Regions from separate parts of the Homo sapiens genome. Here regions 1 and 2 are each linked to region 3. Evidence: promoter capture Hi-C in human tissues and cell types (Jung and others, 2019). All regions are on one chromosome and are shown on one strand. The core of a region is centred on a gene start or on the middle of the fragment in contact, and the rest is flanking DNA. Distances in the headings are between cores, read along the strand shown.

Evidence for each region. The method cuts DNA at HindIII sites, captures the fragments that hold promoters and counts their contacts. A contact is called where the count stands out against the background at its distance.
Region 1: a fragment that was not itself captured here is called in contact with the fragment with the promoter of MED25 in region 3 in 1 of the 25 tissues and cell types used here (pancreas).
Region 2: a contact is called between a fragment that was not itself captured here and the fragment with the promoter of MED25 in region 3, in 1 of the 25 tissues and cell types used here (adrenal gland).

What each region holds. Positions count from the first base shown.
Region 1 is chr19:49,624,342-49,629,089 of GRCh38, forward strand. PRR12 (proline rich 12) reads left to right here. Exons shown (of 14, transcript NM_020719.3): 12 at 503-649; 13 at 764-859; 14 at 1,120-2,098. The coding sequence ends at 1,266. Among named protein-coding and RNA genes, the nearest start is that of RRAS, 13 kb to the right of the region's middle. The HindIII fragment of the contact is 9,568 bases long and covers 1-4,748 here.
Region 2 is chr19:49,642,480-49,647,104 of GRCh38, forward strand. It overlaps SCAF1 (SR-related CTD associated factor 1), which reads left to right. Exons shown (of 11, transcript NM_021228.3): 2 at 2,542-2,655; 3 at 2,875-2,932; 4 at 3,629-3,723; 5 at 4,047-4,147; 6 at 4,236-4,351. The coding sequence starts at 2,548. Among named protein-coding and RNA genes, the nearest start is that of SCAF1, 2.6 kb to the left of the region's middle. The HindIII fragment of the contact is 935 bases long and covers 1,437-2,371 here.
Region 3 is chr19:49,815,999-49,821,112 of GRCh38, forward strand. It overlaps MED25 (mediator complex subunit 25), which reads left to right and starts at 2,291. Exons shown (of 18, transcript NM_030973.4): 1 at 2,291-2,477; 2 at 2,573-2,618; 3 at 3,174-3,298. The coding sequence starts at 2,344. RefSeq lists an enhancer at 1,850-2,209 and silencers at 2,247-2,413, 2,340-2,499. The HindIII fragment of the contact is 7,641 bases long and covers 1-5,114 here.

The DNA.
Region 1 (4,748 bases), core at 141-2,640, 190 kb before region 3:
TGGTGCTGAGAATTCTGGGATAGGTGGTTAGGATGGGGCTGAGAATTCTGGGATAGATAGTTAGGATGGGGCTGAGAATTCTGGGGTAGGTGGTTAGGATGGTGCTGAAAATTTTGGGGTAGGTGGTTAGGATGGGGCTGGGAATTCTGGGGTAGGTGGTTAGGATGGGGCTGAGAATTCTGGGATAGATGGTTAGGATGGGGCTGGGAATTCTGGGATAGATGGTTAGGATGGGGCTGGGAATTCTGGGGTAGATGGTTAGGATGGGGCTGGGAATTCTGGGGTAGAATTTTGGGTGACATTGAGAATCTGAGCCAGGCCAGAAGGCACAGTGGAAGCATCACTGGTCAGGCCCAGCCTCCTCTGTCCTTTGAGGAGACTCTAGTTGTCTCTCCTGATCTGCAGCCTGGGGGAAACTGAGGCACAGATCTGAGACCTGGCTGTTGGGTTTGGGGTTTATGGATCCAGGGCAGCATCCAGCTGACCCATTGGCTTCCCGCAGGATGCTCTGCACACGTTCCCACAGCTGCAAGTGGAGCAGAGTGGGGAGGGCTCTCCGGAAGAGGGGGCTGTGCGGCTGCGGCCTGCTGGGGAACCCTACAACCGCAAGACGCTCAGCAAGCTCAAGAGGAGCGTGGTCAGAGCCCAGGTGGGCACTGGGGCTGGGGCTGGGAGTGGGGAGTGCTGGCGGTATGTGGGAAGGGAGGAGAGGGGCTGCCAAGTGCCGGGCTGGAGGGGCTGAGGCATCTCCACTCCTACCCAGGAGTTCAAGGTTGAGCTGGAAAAGTCGGGATACTATACACTCTACCATTCGCTCCACCACTATAAATACCACACCTTCCTGCGCTGCCGGGACCAGGTGAGCCCCACCCACAGCACCCATCGCCCTGGGATTCCAACCTTTCTGACTTCCTCTTGGGATCTGAGGGTCCAAGCCCAGCCCCATCCTGCCTCAGACCCAAGAGTTCAGGTCCTTCTGTCTTGGACTTAAGAATGCAGCCCCCAGCCCTGGTCTCCCTGGGACACTGACATCTGACACCCCAGGCCCCATGCCCCAGCCCCTTCCCTCCCCAGAGGCCGGTGTGCCACCCTCCCCAGTGCCATGTTTGACCCCTGCAGACCCTGGCCATCGAGGGCGGCGCCGAGGACCTGGGCCAGGAGGAGGTGGTCCAGCAGTGCATGCGGAACCAGCCGTGGCTGGAACAGCTCTTTGACTCCTTCAGTGACCTGCTGGCCCAAGCACAGGCCCACAGCCGCTGCGGGTGACCCCGCCCCAGCTTGTGAGGGGGGCGCCTCCTCCATGAACCGAGAATTGGGACAGAACCGTGTCCTCAGGAGCTAACACCTGGGCTCCATCGCCGGGGAAAGGGGGTCATGGGTCAGGGTGTGTCTGTGCTGCCCCCTCCAGGGCAGGGTTCAAAGTCCGACTCCCCCCCTCTCCCAAGCCCCCTCCACTCCCTCCCCATTCCTCCCACTGTTCGGTGTACAGAGAAATTATTTATATATATGTATAAATGTCTATTTAGTAACGGTTTCCCTCTCCCCTTGCCCCGACCCCCCCTCCACAGCCACAGCCCCCGCCCCCTCCACCTTGTACATAATGTATAGGAAAAGTCTATGTATGGCTGGGGGGGGTGGGGTGGCTTCAGAGAGCTGGGGGACCCCTTCCCCCCAAGTCCCCCCTGCAGGCCAAGATCTTTGCTAAAGGCCATTCCCTCCGCAGGGCATTTGGCGTCGGGTGGGAGGGGAAAACGCATCTTGTTAATTATTTTTAATCTTATTTATTGTACATACCTGGGGCAGGGGCTTGGGGAGGTGGAGGGGGGAGAAGGGTCCCCTCTCTCTGCCCCTCCCACTCCTTTTCTACGGCGATTTGTCTGTGTCTGGCCCCCACCCACTGCCCATCCCCCATTGTTGTCTGGATGTGGTTCTATTTTTTATCGGTCTCCTTTCCCCTCCTCCCCGTTCTCGCCCCCGCCCCACCCCCTGCTCCCACTACCCTTTGTCTCTTGCTCTTTCTTGGGCTTCTGTACAACTCAACTTGTATACACTGTGTACACACAACCAGCCAAACGAAAACCCAACGGCAAACACTTTACCGGCAGGCTGGAGTGCCTCTGTCCTGCGGCGCTGGAGTGGGTGGCAGTGGTAGCAGGGGCAGAGGTTCTGGAACGGGACTTTCCCAGAGCCCTGGGCAGTGGGGGGCCTGAGGCTGGCATATGTTCTGTGTCCCCGCACAGCAGAGTATCCCACCCTGAAATTTAATGACTTCAGACAACAAATATTTATCACTGGGGGGTTTCTTTTGTTTTTTAGCTAAAGACAGGGTCTCGCTCTGTCACCTAGGCTGGAGTGCAGTGGCATGATCATAGCTCACTGCAGCCTCCAACTCCCTGGCTCAAGCGATCCTCCTGCCTCAGCCTCCCAAAGTGACGGGATTACAGGCAAGTGCCACTGTGCCTGGCCCTGTGTTCTTTATGTTACCCAGGCTGGCCTTGAACTTCTGGGCTTAAAAGATCCTCCTGCCCCAGTCTCAAGTAGTTGGCATTACGGGTGCATGCCACTACACCCAGTTCAAATCCTGTAGTGTTTTGTTTTGGTTTTTTTTTTTGAGACAGAGTCTCGCTCTGTCACCCAGCCTGGAGTGCAGTGGTTCGATCTTGGCTCATGCAACCTCAGCCTCCCCGGTTCAAGCGATTCTCCTGCCTCAGCCTCCCAAGTAGCTGGGATTACAGGGGCCTACCACTACATCCAGCAAATTTTTGTATTTTTAGTAGAAACCAGGTTTCACCATGTCGGCCAGGCTGGTCTCGAACTCCTGACCTCAAGTGATCCGCCAGCCTCAGCCTTCCAAAGAGATTACAGGTGTGAGCCACTGCGCCCGGCCTCAAGTCCTGTATTCTTGAATCCAAGTGAGTGGTCCATGGTACAGCACTCTTGGAGTTCCCCAAGCACTTGTATAAATGTAGAATCGGCACAGGCAGCAGACGAGGAGAGGGCAGGTTGAATAGGGCTGTTTCTCCTCCTCCCACCCTTAAAGGAAAAGATGTAGAATCTCAGGCTGTTGCTCTGGTCTACTTGATCAGAACCCACTTTTTAGTAAAATGCCGAGAGGATTCTCAAGCACATTCAAGTTTGAAGAACCGTGTTCTAGAACAAGAATGTTAAAAATGTGCAGGTTGGCTGGGCACGGTGGCTCACGGCTATAATCCCAGCACTGTGGGAGGCCGGGGCGGGGGGATCACTTGAGGTCAGGAGTTCGAGACCGGCCTGACCAACATGGTGAAACCCCGTCTCTACTAAAAATACAAAAATCAGCCAGGCGTGGTGGCGTGCGTCTATAATCCCAGCTACATGGGAGGCTGAGGCTGAGGCAGGAGAATCGCTTGAATCCAGGGGGCGGAGGTTGCAGTGAGTTGAGATCGTGCCATTGCACCACTCCAGCCTGGCTGACAGAGCGAGACTCCATCTCAAAAAATAAAAAATGTGGAGGTCAACTGGCAATATTTTAGAACCCAGTCTATGAAGCAGTGAACAGGCTGTTGTCATTCTAGAGCCTGGATGGATGGACCACTGGTGTTCCAGAACCCTGGCTTAGTCCGTGGGTAGGGACCCAGTGTGAGATTTGAGGGTGGAACATCAGCATTCCAGATGCCCTTTTAGGTGAGATTCAGGGAGAACCCTCATCGTTCTAGAACCTTGAGTATTGTTCCAGGGGTGTCCAAGGAGAGAATACAGTCATGGGTTCTTAGTTTCTGTTGTACCAGTAAAGCCCCTTCCTCATCCCTCTTTTTTGTTTATTACTAGAGACAGAAACTAAAAACCATGGCTTCAGGCTGCTAAAAGCCTAAAACAAAACAGAACAACAACAAAATAAGGTGGGTTGGACAAATCTGGACTCTAGACCATCACATGTTACAGATTTTTTTTTTTTTTTTTTTTTTTTTGACGGAATCTCGATCTGTTGCCCAGGCTGGAGTGCAGTGGCGCAATCTCGGCTCACTGCAAGCTCCGCGTCCAGGGTTCCTGCCATTCTCCTGCCTCAGCCTCCCAAGTAGCTGGGACTACAGGCGCCCACCACCATGCCCGACTAATTTTTTTTTTTTTGTATTTTTAGTAGAGATGGGGTTTCACTGTGTTAGCCAGGATGGTCTCAATCTCCTGACCTCGTGATCCGCCTGCCTCGGCCTCCCAAAGTGCTGGGATTACAGGCAAGAGCCATCGTGCCTGGCCACATGTTACAGATTTTAGATCCTGGTTTCAGACTAGAGGATGGATAGTAGCATTTGAGAACCATAATGGGTGAGTCAACAATAGACCATGAAGCCAGGCGTGGTGGCTCACGGTTGTAATCCCAGCACTTTGGGAGGTGGAGATGAGCGGATCACCTGAGGTCAGGAGTTTGAGACCGGCCTGGCCAGCATGGTAAAAACCTTCTTTTTTTTTTTTTTGAGACGGAGTCTCCCTCTGTTTCCCAGGCTGGAGTGCAGTGGCACTATCTTGACTCACTGCAACCTCCGCCTCCCAAGTTCAAGCGATTGTCCTGCCTCTGCCTTGTGAGTAGCTGGGATAACAGGTGCATGCCACCACTCCCGGCTAATTTTTGTATTTTTAGTAGAGACAGGGTTTCACCATGTTGATCAGGCTGGTCTCGAACTCCTGACCTCATGATCTGCCCTTCTTGGCCTCCCAAAGTGCTGGGATTACAGGCATGAGCCACTGTGCCCAGCCAACCCTATCTCTCTTAA
Region 2 (4,625 bases), core at 654-3,153, 170 kb before region 3:
GACTTGGGGCGTCTCTGGGCCTAGACCGAGCCTAAGGCCTGCCCTCCATCACACAGCTGGCCTGGATCGTGTCTGTAGACACTGTAGATTGTCTTTTTGGGCTGACCGGAGGCTAGGGTCTGGTTAGAGGGTTCTGGGGCCATCTTGAGATCTTGAGATATGTCCCAGGGGTGAAGGAGGGTCTGCAAGACCTGAAGAGTATCTTCAGAGCCATCTAGAGGCCTGGGGTATGTCTTTTAGGGCTGGAAAGTGTCTGCATGGGCTGGCCTGAGGATGCAACTGGTCTGCATAAGTCTGGGGCCATTTATCAGGCCTAGAAGGAGTGTTCAAGGGCTAAGAAGTCATTTAGGGCCCCCTAGGGGGTTGGGTTATGCCCACCAGGGAAGGGCGCCAAATATTGAGATGTACTGAGGGTCTGGGGTCTCCAAGGTATGGGTAGTGTCTAATAATGGGTGACAGGAGGCTGGGGGCAGTTAGAAGGACCTGGAACCATCTAGATGGCTTTAATGTGACTGCAGGAATGCAGTTTTGATGCCTGGAGCAAATTCGAATGCCTTTGGGGTCAGAGCAGCTTGTGGCGAATAATAATACGGAAAGAGAATGAGGAAATTTTGCCCAGCTTAGATATACTTGCCCTTCAGACAGTAATTCAAATGAAAAATGTTTTAAGATTCTGCATTACCCTGGGGGTTATTGAGAGAGTTAGAATTAATCTACATTAGTCTGGAAGAGTCTGGAGGGTCATCTAGACCCACTATTACAGTGCTTTTCAAGGGGAAACCTGGGCCATGTTGACCGTGATCTGCATTAAGATACATTTTTTCATTGAGACCTGGTACAGACAGTCATAATGTATTTAACATTATATAACATAATGTATTAACATTAACTCACCTTCCACGAATTGACATTTCCACTTACTACTTGTGCTGTGCTGTGAAGAACTATTTTGTTCTATTTACTTTTTAAAACAAGCTATTTGTGAAGCACTAAACTGGTATATGACCCTGTTGTTGGGGAAACCACTGATCCAGATAGGACCTAGCAGTATCTGCAGAGCATTCTTCTGTTCAGAAGATCTCAGTAGCTGAGGGTGTGTCTGCGAAGCCTGGTGCTTTCTAAATGAGCAAGCAAGCATCTTTGTATACTGCAGAGGGTTTGGGGATCCCTCAGCCTGTAGTCAGCAGATGTTGATTAAGCTTCTGATATGTGACAGTCACTGTTGTAGGTAGCATGTGCTTCCCCGGGAGGTGCTGGAGAGCAGTTCCAGGGCCAGGAACTGGGGCTGAGCTTATTGAGTATTGGTGAAAGAGGCTGGGATGTAATAGACTATCAGGGTTGGGTGTGTCTTAGGAAGTTAGGAATTAGGTGGAGCTGGGAGGCTGAATATGGAGGCTTGGCATGGTTTGAAAATCTATATGGGATCTAGAACAGGACCAGGGCCTTGTCTTTGCAGGCATGCTGTGGGGGAAGCGAGGAGACAGATGTAGGGGAAACCTGGGCGTTAAGGGCTAATAGTGTCATTCCTCTTCATCCGTATTGAGCACTTGAGGTGCTCTAAATGTGTGGCAGAAGTCAGGCTTTGAGTATTCACAGCCATTCTCTGAGATAGATGCTCCTATTTCGTGCATTTACAATTAAGCATACTGAGTTGTGGGTTAGGGATTTTGAAGCTTTCTAGGAATTTTGAGATTGGATATTGTCTTATGAGTAGCAGATTTGACAGTCATGGGGAAGCTTACAGCTGAAATATTCATATTTTTCTGAAGCCCTAATCAAGACATCCACCTGTTTGATGGATGATCTTTCAACTGCCTGACTGGGGAATCATATCAAAGAATTTCCATGACATTGCAAAGGCTTTGTGCAGATGGCGATAGGTAAATGCCTCCTGTGAAGTTTTCCTTCGGCATGTCTTTCTGAAGTTTAGCGTTTTCATTTTAAAAATGGCATACTGGTTTTGCAGATCACTCAATGAAGTTTCCAACTTAGGTGTATAAATACAATTTGGGGGTGGTCCTCACCATCGAGGACAGTTGATGCTCTAGGAAGCCGTGTGGTGTTTAAGGCATGGTGTTGAATATTGCCCAGCACATTGGCCTTGGGAAAGGTGGGTTTATAGGACTGTGGAACACACCCTTTGAAATCACAGTGCAGCACACACAAAAAACCTTGGTGTTGGCTTTGCCTCTTAGGAGGCCAGGGAATGAGGTCTTGAAGTTTGGATAGGTTGTTGGGGAAGCTGCGGGAATTGAGGAGTGAGATGTTAAAAGCGGAGGCCAGGGAGGCCTCCCTTTGACATAAGAGGCACCTGAGACCCAGAAAAAAGGAAGAGAATTGCTCCTAGTCCCTGGGGTGTCTGTGCTGGGTCCAGCGCCCACCCAAGCACAGGGTGGAGTGGGAGGAGGTGGAGGAGAGGAGGGGTGCCAGAGGGGATGCTGAGGGAGATAGTGTGGGGCCCTTGAGGTCTTCATGTCTATCCTCTACTTCCATCCTTTCTCCCGGGACCTCCACTCCAAACTCTCCCCCCTGGACCCCCAGGTGACCATGGAGGAAGAAGATGAGTCTCGAGGGAAGACAGAGGAGTCGGGGGAGGATCGGGGCGATGGTCCGCCAGACAGAGACCCCACGCTTTCTCCTTCTGCCTTTATCCTGGTGAGGCTGCTGGGCTCCTGGCACTGAGGGATGGAGGAGCTGGGCATCCACACTCCAGGGGCCTGACTCCAGGGCCTGAGGCAGGGGCGCTGGACTCTTGGCTCCCTTGAAGCACTTGAGTCTAGCTGTCAGTGTCTGGGATGTCTGTCTCCCAAGGGGCAGAGGTTGCAAAGCATCTGCCTGGGTCCTCTGACGCTTGGTTCTTCCCCCCTTCCCCAGCGAGCCATCCAGCAGGCTGTGGGAAGCTCCCTGCAGGGGGACCTGCCCAATGATAAAGGTATGGCGGCTTCCGGTTCCTTTTAGCCCCTGCCCCCTCTCTGCATTCTTTATCCTAATGTCATTCATACAAGCTTTTCTGAAGCCTCCTGGGTGCCACCCTTGTGCTGGCATGGGGAGCCAAAAATGGGCAGACACCCTGTAGCTGCCTTGGAAGGGCCTAGTGTGCAGTGGAAGGGAGACAGGCACAGTGCTGGGAGAGGGCAGGAGGCCCACTTGAGCTAGCATGGTGGGAGACGGGTCAGGGCACCTTCCCCGAGCAGGGACAGTGAACGGCTCTCTAAGGACCTAGAAGAGTCTAAGGACCTAGGATTAGAGGGAAGCCTGATCAGCTGCAGCAGGCCTACAGCACGGGTGCAGCGGCGAGGGGCTGCGCTGGGCTTCCTTGGGGCTGGCATGCAGGAGGGTGTGAGTGGGGTTGGGGGAGGCAGGAGAGGTCTGTGGGGACTGGATCCCAGCAAGGCCTGAATGCCAGGTTGAGGTGTCTGAGGGCAGACAGGAGGACGAATGGCTGAGCGTCGCAGCCTCTGAAGTGGGTGCTGGGAAGTCCTCCTGGGAGGTGGCGCATGGAGGCCTGGAGAGCATGCGGGAGGCTGGTTCCGCTGTCAGGAACTAGATCAAGCTCCTCTTTCCTCTACCCCGCAAGTCTCTGCAGCAAGTCCCCTGTGTCCAATCCCCCATGCAAATCTCTCACCAGATGGCTCTCGGTGTCATGGCCTTCGATGGCGGCGCTGCCGGAGTCCACGGTCAGAGCCCCGTTCCCAGGAATCAGGGGGCACTGACACGGCTACTGTGAGTAAGAAGAGGGGGCTGGGGGCCTGGCTCACGGGTATCAGGGAGGAAGGGATGGGGGCCTGAGTCTGGGGGAATGGGGTTTGGGGACCTGGACTCCTGGCTCTGCGATGCTGACCAGGGGCAATGTTGGAGAGTCTGGGGGCCTGATCTGTGGGCCTGAGCTTTGAGTGTTGATGGCAGTCAGGCTATAGGAATTAGATCCTCAGTTTTCTTGGGGATCTTAGATGTCTGGGTTCCTGAGAGGTTAGGGAGTGGGGAAGCAGGATTTGCCAGTCTTCATGTGACCAGGGACGGCGTAGAGCCTCTCTGGCCTCTTCCAGGTGTTGGACATGGCCACGGACAGCTTCCTCGCAGGGCTGGTGAGTGTCCTGGATCCCCCGGATACCTGGGTTCCCAGCCGCCTGGACCTGCGGCCTGGCGAGTGAGTAGCTGGGCAGCTGGAGTGGGAGAGGCCTCAGCGTGAGAGCCAGAAGCACCCCTGAGGCTCACCCACCCCTTCCGCCTTGCAGAAGTGAGGACATGCTGGAGCTGGTGGCTGAGGTCCGAATCGGGGACAGAGATCCCATCCCTCTGCCTGTGCCCAGCCTGCTGCCCCGTCTCAGGGCCTGGAGGACGGGCAAAACGGGTATGTGGGGCCAGGGCGGAGCTGGGCAGGTGGTCGTGGAGTTGTGTGGGGATCGGCTGTTTTTGGTAGTGATGGTAGCGGTGATCATGTTATTTAGACAAAACCTTTCCCTTCTCTTCGTATTAGACGTGATTAAGGCTGTAGGCGCATACAGATGTACATAAAGTAAAAACTGATGTGCTGGGGCTATGTGGGAGTGGTCAGCGTGTGTGACAACTGGTTTCGGCACGCTAAGTATTAGTGTCACTGCACTGGGCGTTCATCTCCCCAGGAG
Region 3 (5,114 bases), core at 1,041-3,540:
CCCCGCTAATTTTTTTTTTTTTTTTTTTGGATTTTCAGTAGAGACGGGGTTTCACCGTGTTAGCAAGGATGGTCTCGATCTCCTGACCTCGTGATCTGCCCGCCTTGGCCTCCCAAAGTGCTGGGATTGCAAGCATGAGCCACTGCGCCCGGCCTGTTTTTTTTGTTTTTTTTGTTTTTTTTTTGAGACAGTCTCGCTCTGTCGCCCAGGCTGGAGTGCAGTGGCGTGATCTCGGCTCACTGCAACCTCTGCCTCCCGGGTTCAAGCGATTCTCCTTGCCTCAGCCTCTCGAGTTGCTGGGATTACAGGTGGGCACCACGACGCCCAGTGATACTGACCTCGTGATGCGCCCGCCTCTACCTCCCAAAGTGCTGGAATTACAGGCATGAGCCATCTCGCCCGGCCGAAGATTATGTTTTAAAATATTTACTGGCCATTCAAAATTTTGTGTGTGTGTTTGTGTGAAACTAGTCAGGTTTCTTTTTATTTATTTATTTTTATTTTTTTTGAGACGGAGTCTAACTCTGCCGCCCAGGCTGGAATGCAGTGGCACAATCTCAGTTGACTGCAACCTCCGCCTCCCGGGTTCAGGAGAATCTCCTGACTCAGCCTCCCAAGTAGCTGGGATTACAGACGCCCACCAGGACGGCTAATTTTTTTATTTTTAGTAGTTAGAAGGAGTTTCACCATGTTGGCCAGGCTGGTCTTGAACCCCTTACCTCGGGTGATCTGCCCGCCTTGGCCTCCCAAAGTGCTGGGATTACAAGCGTGAGCCACGGCGTCCGGCCCTGGTCAGGTTTCTTTCTATTAAAACAAATATAAAGTGGCAGGGCACGATGGCTAACACCTGGGATCGCTTTAGCCGAGGAGTTTGAGACACGCCAGAGCAACACAGTGAGACCCCATCTCTACAAAAAATTTAAAAATTAGCTGGAAGTGGTAGTGCGCGGCTGTGGTCCCAGCTGCTCCACAGGCTGAAGAGTGGCTCCAGTGCGAGTAGAGGCTGCCGTGAGCCAAGATTGGGCCACTGCACTTCAACCTGCACAACAGAAAGAGACCCTGCCTCAAAAAATAAAAATTAAAATTAAAAGATAATAGTAATGAAGTGTTTCTATTTTTCTATATTGTTATTCATCAGTAAGATTTATTTGCGTAGTACATTTCTGTCAACAAACACGCTAGAAAGATTTTCCCAGTTGGCCGTATATTTTTCAACTTGGTTTATACAGTCTTTTGGGAAAAATTAATGAAGACTACGTTTTCTAACTTTGCTGTAGTGCTAAGAAACTCCATGGCAGTCATTAAGATTTTTTCCCTTCAGATAGTTTTCGGGTTTCATTTGTTGCACTTACATTTTTAATCCACCTGGAATGTATTTACGTTCTAAGCCAGTTTCTGGCTCCTCTCCCAGAAAACAACGCTCAGGTGTTGCTTAGCAACCCGCACTTGGTTTGGTGTTCGGCTTCTTTTCGGGGGGGAAAACAACTGCCCTCCCTTCCAAGTTGAGGACGACCTTAAAGCGTCGCCTAGTAACCTCGTTTCCGCCGATGTGATTGGATCCTTCTCGCGTCCCTCCCCTAGTCCCCACGCCCGAAAGAACAGAACCAGAAACTTAATCTAACGGTTACAAAACAAGGGCAGCGGGCCCGGCGCGGTGGCTCACGCCTGTAATCTCAGCACTTTGGGAAGCCAAGGCGGGCGAATCACTTGAGGTCAGGAGTTCGAGAACAGCCTGGCCCACAGGGTGAAACTCTTTCTCTACTAAAAATACAAAAATTAGCGGGGCGTGGTTGCGGGCACCTGTAATCCCAGCTACTCGGGAGGCTGAGGCAGGAGAATCGCTTGAACCCGGGAAGCGGAGGTTGTAGTGAGCCGAGATCGCGCCACTGCACTCCAGCCTGGGCGACAGGGCGAGACTCCCGTTTCGAAAAAACAAACAAACAAAAAACAAAACACAAAAACGAAAACAAGGGCAGCGTACGCGTTGCATAGCAACCAGGTCTCCTGCCCCTCCCTTTGAGACAAGAGGCGGACCTGGACGCCCCGCTCAAAGATGGCGGCTGACTGAGCCGCTTTCAATTTATTTAGCTTTTGACAATAATTCCGTCTAACCCATCAGGCCCCTAGAAGGGCTAACTATGCCCTTTCTGAGTCTTCCACGCGGTGGGGGCGAAGGAGGATGGAGCTAGAACGAAGCCTCAGCGCGTGCCCCGCACAAACATGGCAGCATTCCCAGCAGCCCTAAACCGCCCGACGCGAGCGCGCGCGCGGCGCAGGCGCATTTCTGCTCATTCCGCGGCGTCGGCTGCGGCTGCAGTGGTGGTGGCGGGTACCGCACGGGGTATGGTCCCCGGGTCCGAGGGCCCGGCCCGCGCCGGGAGCGTGGTGGCCGACGTGGTGTTTGTGATTGAGGGTACGGCCAACCTGGGACCCTACTTCGAGGGGCTCCGCAAGCACTACCTGCTCCCGGCCATCGAGTGAGTGCTGTTTCCGCGACTCTAACCCCGCCCTCCCACTTCAGTTTCGCACAGTTTCTTGCCTGACTCCGACCTTTCACTTCCTACCCTCACAGGTATTTTAATGGTGGTCCTCCTGCTGAGACGGACTTCGGGGGAGACGTGAGTCTAGGGACTCCTGGGCCTGAGGGAGGAGGGGCCGGGGGCCTGGACTCCTGGGTCTGAGGGAGGGAGAAAGGGCTGGGCCTGGACTCCTGAGTTTGAGGGAGGAGGGGCTGGGGGTCTGGACTCCTTGTTCTGAGGGAGGAGGGCCTGGGGGCCTGGACTCCTGGGTCTGAGGGTGGAGGCGCTGGGGCCCGGATTCCTGGGTCCGAGGGAGGAGGGAGCTAGGGGCCCAGATCCCTGGGTCTGAGGGAGGAAGGGCTGGGCGTCTGGACTGCTGGGTCTGAGAAAGGAGGAGCTGAGGCCTGGATTCCTGGGTCTGAGGGAGGAGGTGCTGGGGCCTGGGCTCCTGGGTCTGAGGGAGGAGGGGCCGGGGGCCTGGATTCCTGGGTCTGAGGGAGAAGGGGCTGGGGCCGAGATTGCTGGGTCTGAGGAAGGAGGAAGCTGAGGAGTTCCTGGTTCTGGAGGAACGGGAAGCTGGGAGCCCTGATTCCTTCTCTAAGGGAAAAGGGAATTGAGGTCCCAGATTAAAAGTTTTCTGTCCTCCCCTCCCAGTATGGGGGGACCCAGTACAGCCTCGTGGTGTTCAACACAGTGGACTGCGCTCCCGAGTCCTACGTACAATGTCACGCTCCCACCAGCAGCGCCTATGAGTTTGTCACCTGGCTCGATGGCATTAAGTGAGCTTTCCCCCACTTGGGGTGGGTTGCTGGTCCCTGTGAGGGGCCGTGAATGAGTGATGGCTTGGGGTGGTTGGTGTCCCCGTGAGAGGCTGTGAATAAGTGATGGCTTGGGGTGGTTGGTGTCCCCGTGAGGGGCTGTGAATAAGTAATGGCTTGGGGTGGTTGGGGTCCCTGCGAGGGGCCGTGAATGAGCGATGGCTTGGGTTTGAGCTGCAGGAAACATCTCATACATTAAGGGATTGAAAGGACTTTGAGGGTGATTGTGTTTTTGTCAGAAGTCACTTTTGTGGTGGCTTCTGTGTGCTCAGCAATGTTGCCATCAGTTTAGAAGTAGGAAAAACCTTCCCATTCAGGGAGGCCTGGCTGAGCTCCAGCAGCCACCTTGTACTCCCTGTGTGATTGTCCCCTTTCTGTCCTCTCTTTTTCCGTCTACCCCTGTCCTCCTTTTCCAGATGGGTACATTGTAGCCTCAGTGCAGGGGGATGGGTCAGAGCCAGGATAGATCCCTCTGTGGCTTGGGTCAGAATTTTTTTTTTTTTTTTTGAAACAGTGTCTTGCTCTGTCTCCCAGGCTTGTAGTGCAGTGGCACAGTCGTGGCTCACTGCAACCTGTACCTCCTGGGTTGAAGCGATTCTTCTGCCTCAGCCTCCCAAGTAGCTGGGATTACAGGCACACGCCACTATGCCCAGCTAATTTTTTTTTTTTTTTTTGTATTTTTAGTAGAGACAGTTTCACTGTGTTGGCCAGGCTGGTCTCAAACTCCTGACCTCATGTGATCTGCCTGCCTCAGCCTCCCAAAGTGCTGGGATTATAGGGGTGAGCCACTGTTGCGGGATTCAGGACGACAGGAGAGAGCCCTCGGGTTAAAGCAGGAGAATCTTTCATTGAGTGCACTCAGGCCCAAGCCGACTCACGTCCAAAGACGGCCCAGAACAAAGGTAGCACTTGACTTTTATACACACTTCACAAAAGGGGGTGGGCTAGCTTGAAGCAAGCTTACAGTGGCGTGACAGCAGGGATACAGAGGCAGAACAAAAACAGTTAATCAAATTGTTGTAACAGGTTTATAACTCAGGATTGCACATAACCGTTGCTATGCAACCCAGATGTCCCTTATCTAGGTTAGCCTAGGCACGGGCTTATCCCATAACCTTCACTGTGGTGCCCAGGCAGCTCAGGCTTCTCATGACCTTCGCTGTACTTCTTAGATAAAACAGAATACTTGAAGTCATGAGTTACAGAGAACAGGAATCTATAAACTCATTCCATAAAACAAAGGAAAATTTGTTTTTTCTTCTCTCTATGTTGAGGGAGTGCTGGGAGAGTCTCCAAGAGCACTTTAGATAGTATTATCAAGACTTTTCCTGGGTCTGGGCTGTGCCCATTGCTGCCTCTCAGACAAGTCAGCCTAATACATAGAACTTATTTCTCTTTTTAATTTTTTTTCTTTAATTTCCTGCCTCACCACCACGCCTGGCGCTGGATCGGATTTTGATAGTTGACATTGTAGAGTCTGGAGTCAGGCAGACGGGTTAAATCCTGGCTCTTCCAGCACAGAACTAACTCTCAGACCCAGGAGTCTGTCCCCTCTGTGCCTAGTATCTCACTTGTGAAGTGGGGATGTGGATAGTACTTGTATTAGTATTTCATTGTATTACTTATTCTTAGCTGTATAATAGATTACCACCAAATAATGGCTGCATACTGCAAACATTTATTATCTAACGCAGTTTCTGTGAGTCAAGGACACAAGAGTGGCTTGGCTGGATGGTTGGGCTGAGGGTCTCACAAGGCAATAGTCAGGAGGTCGGCA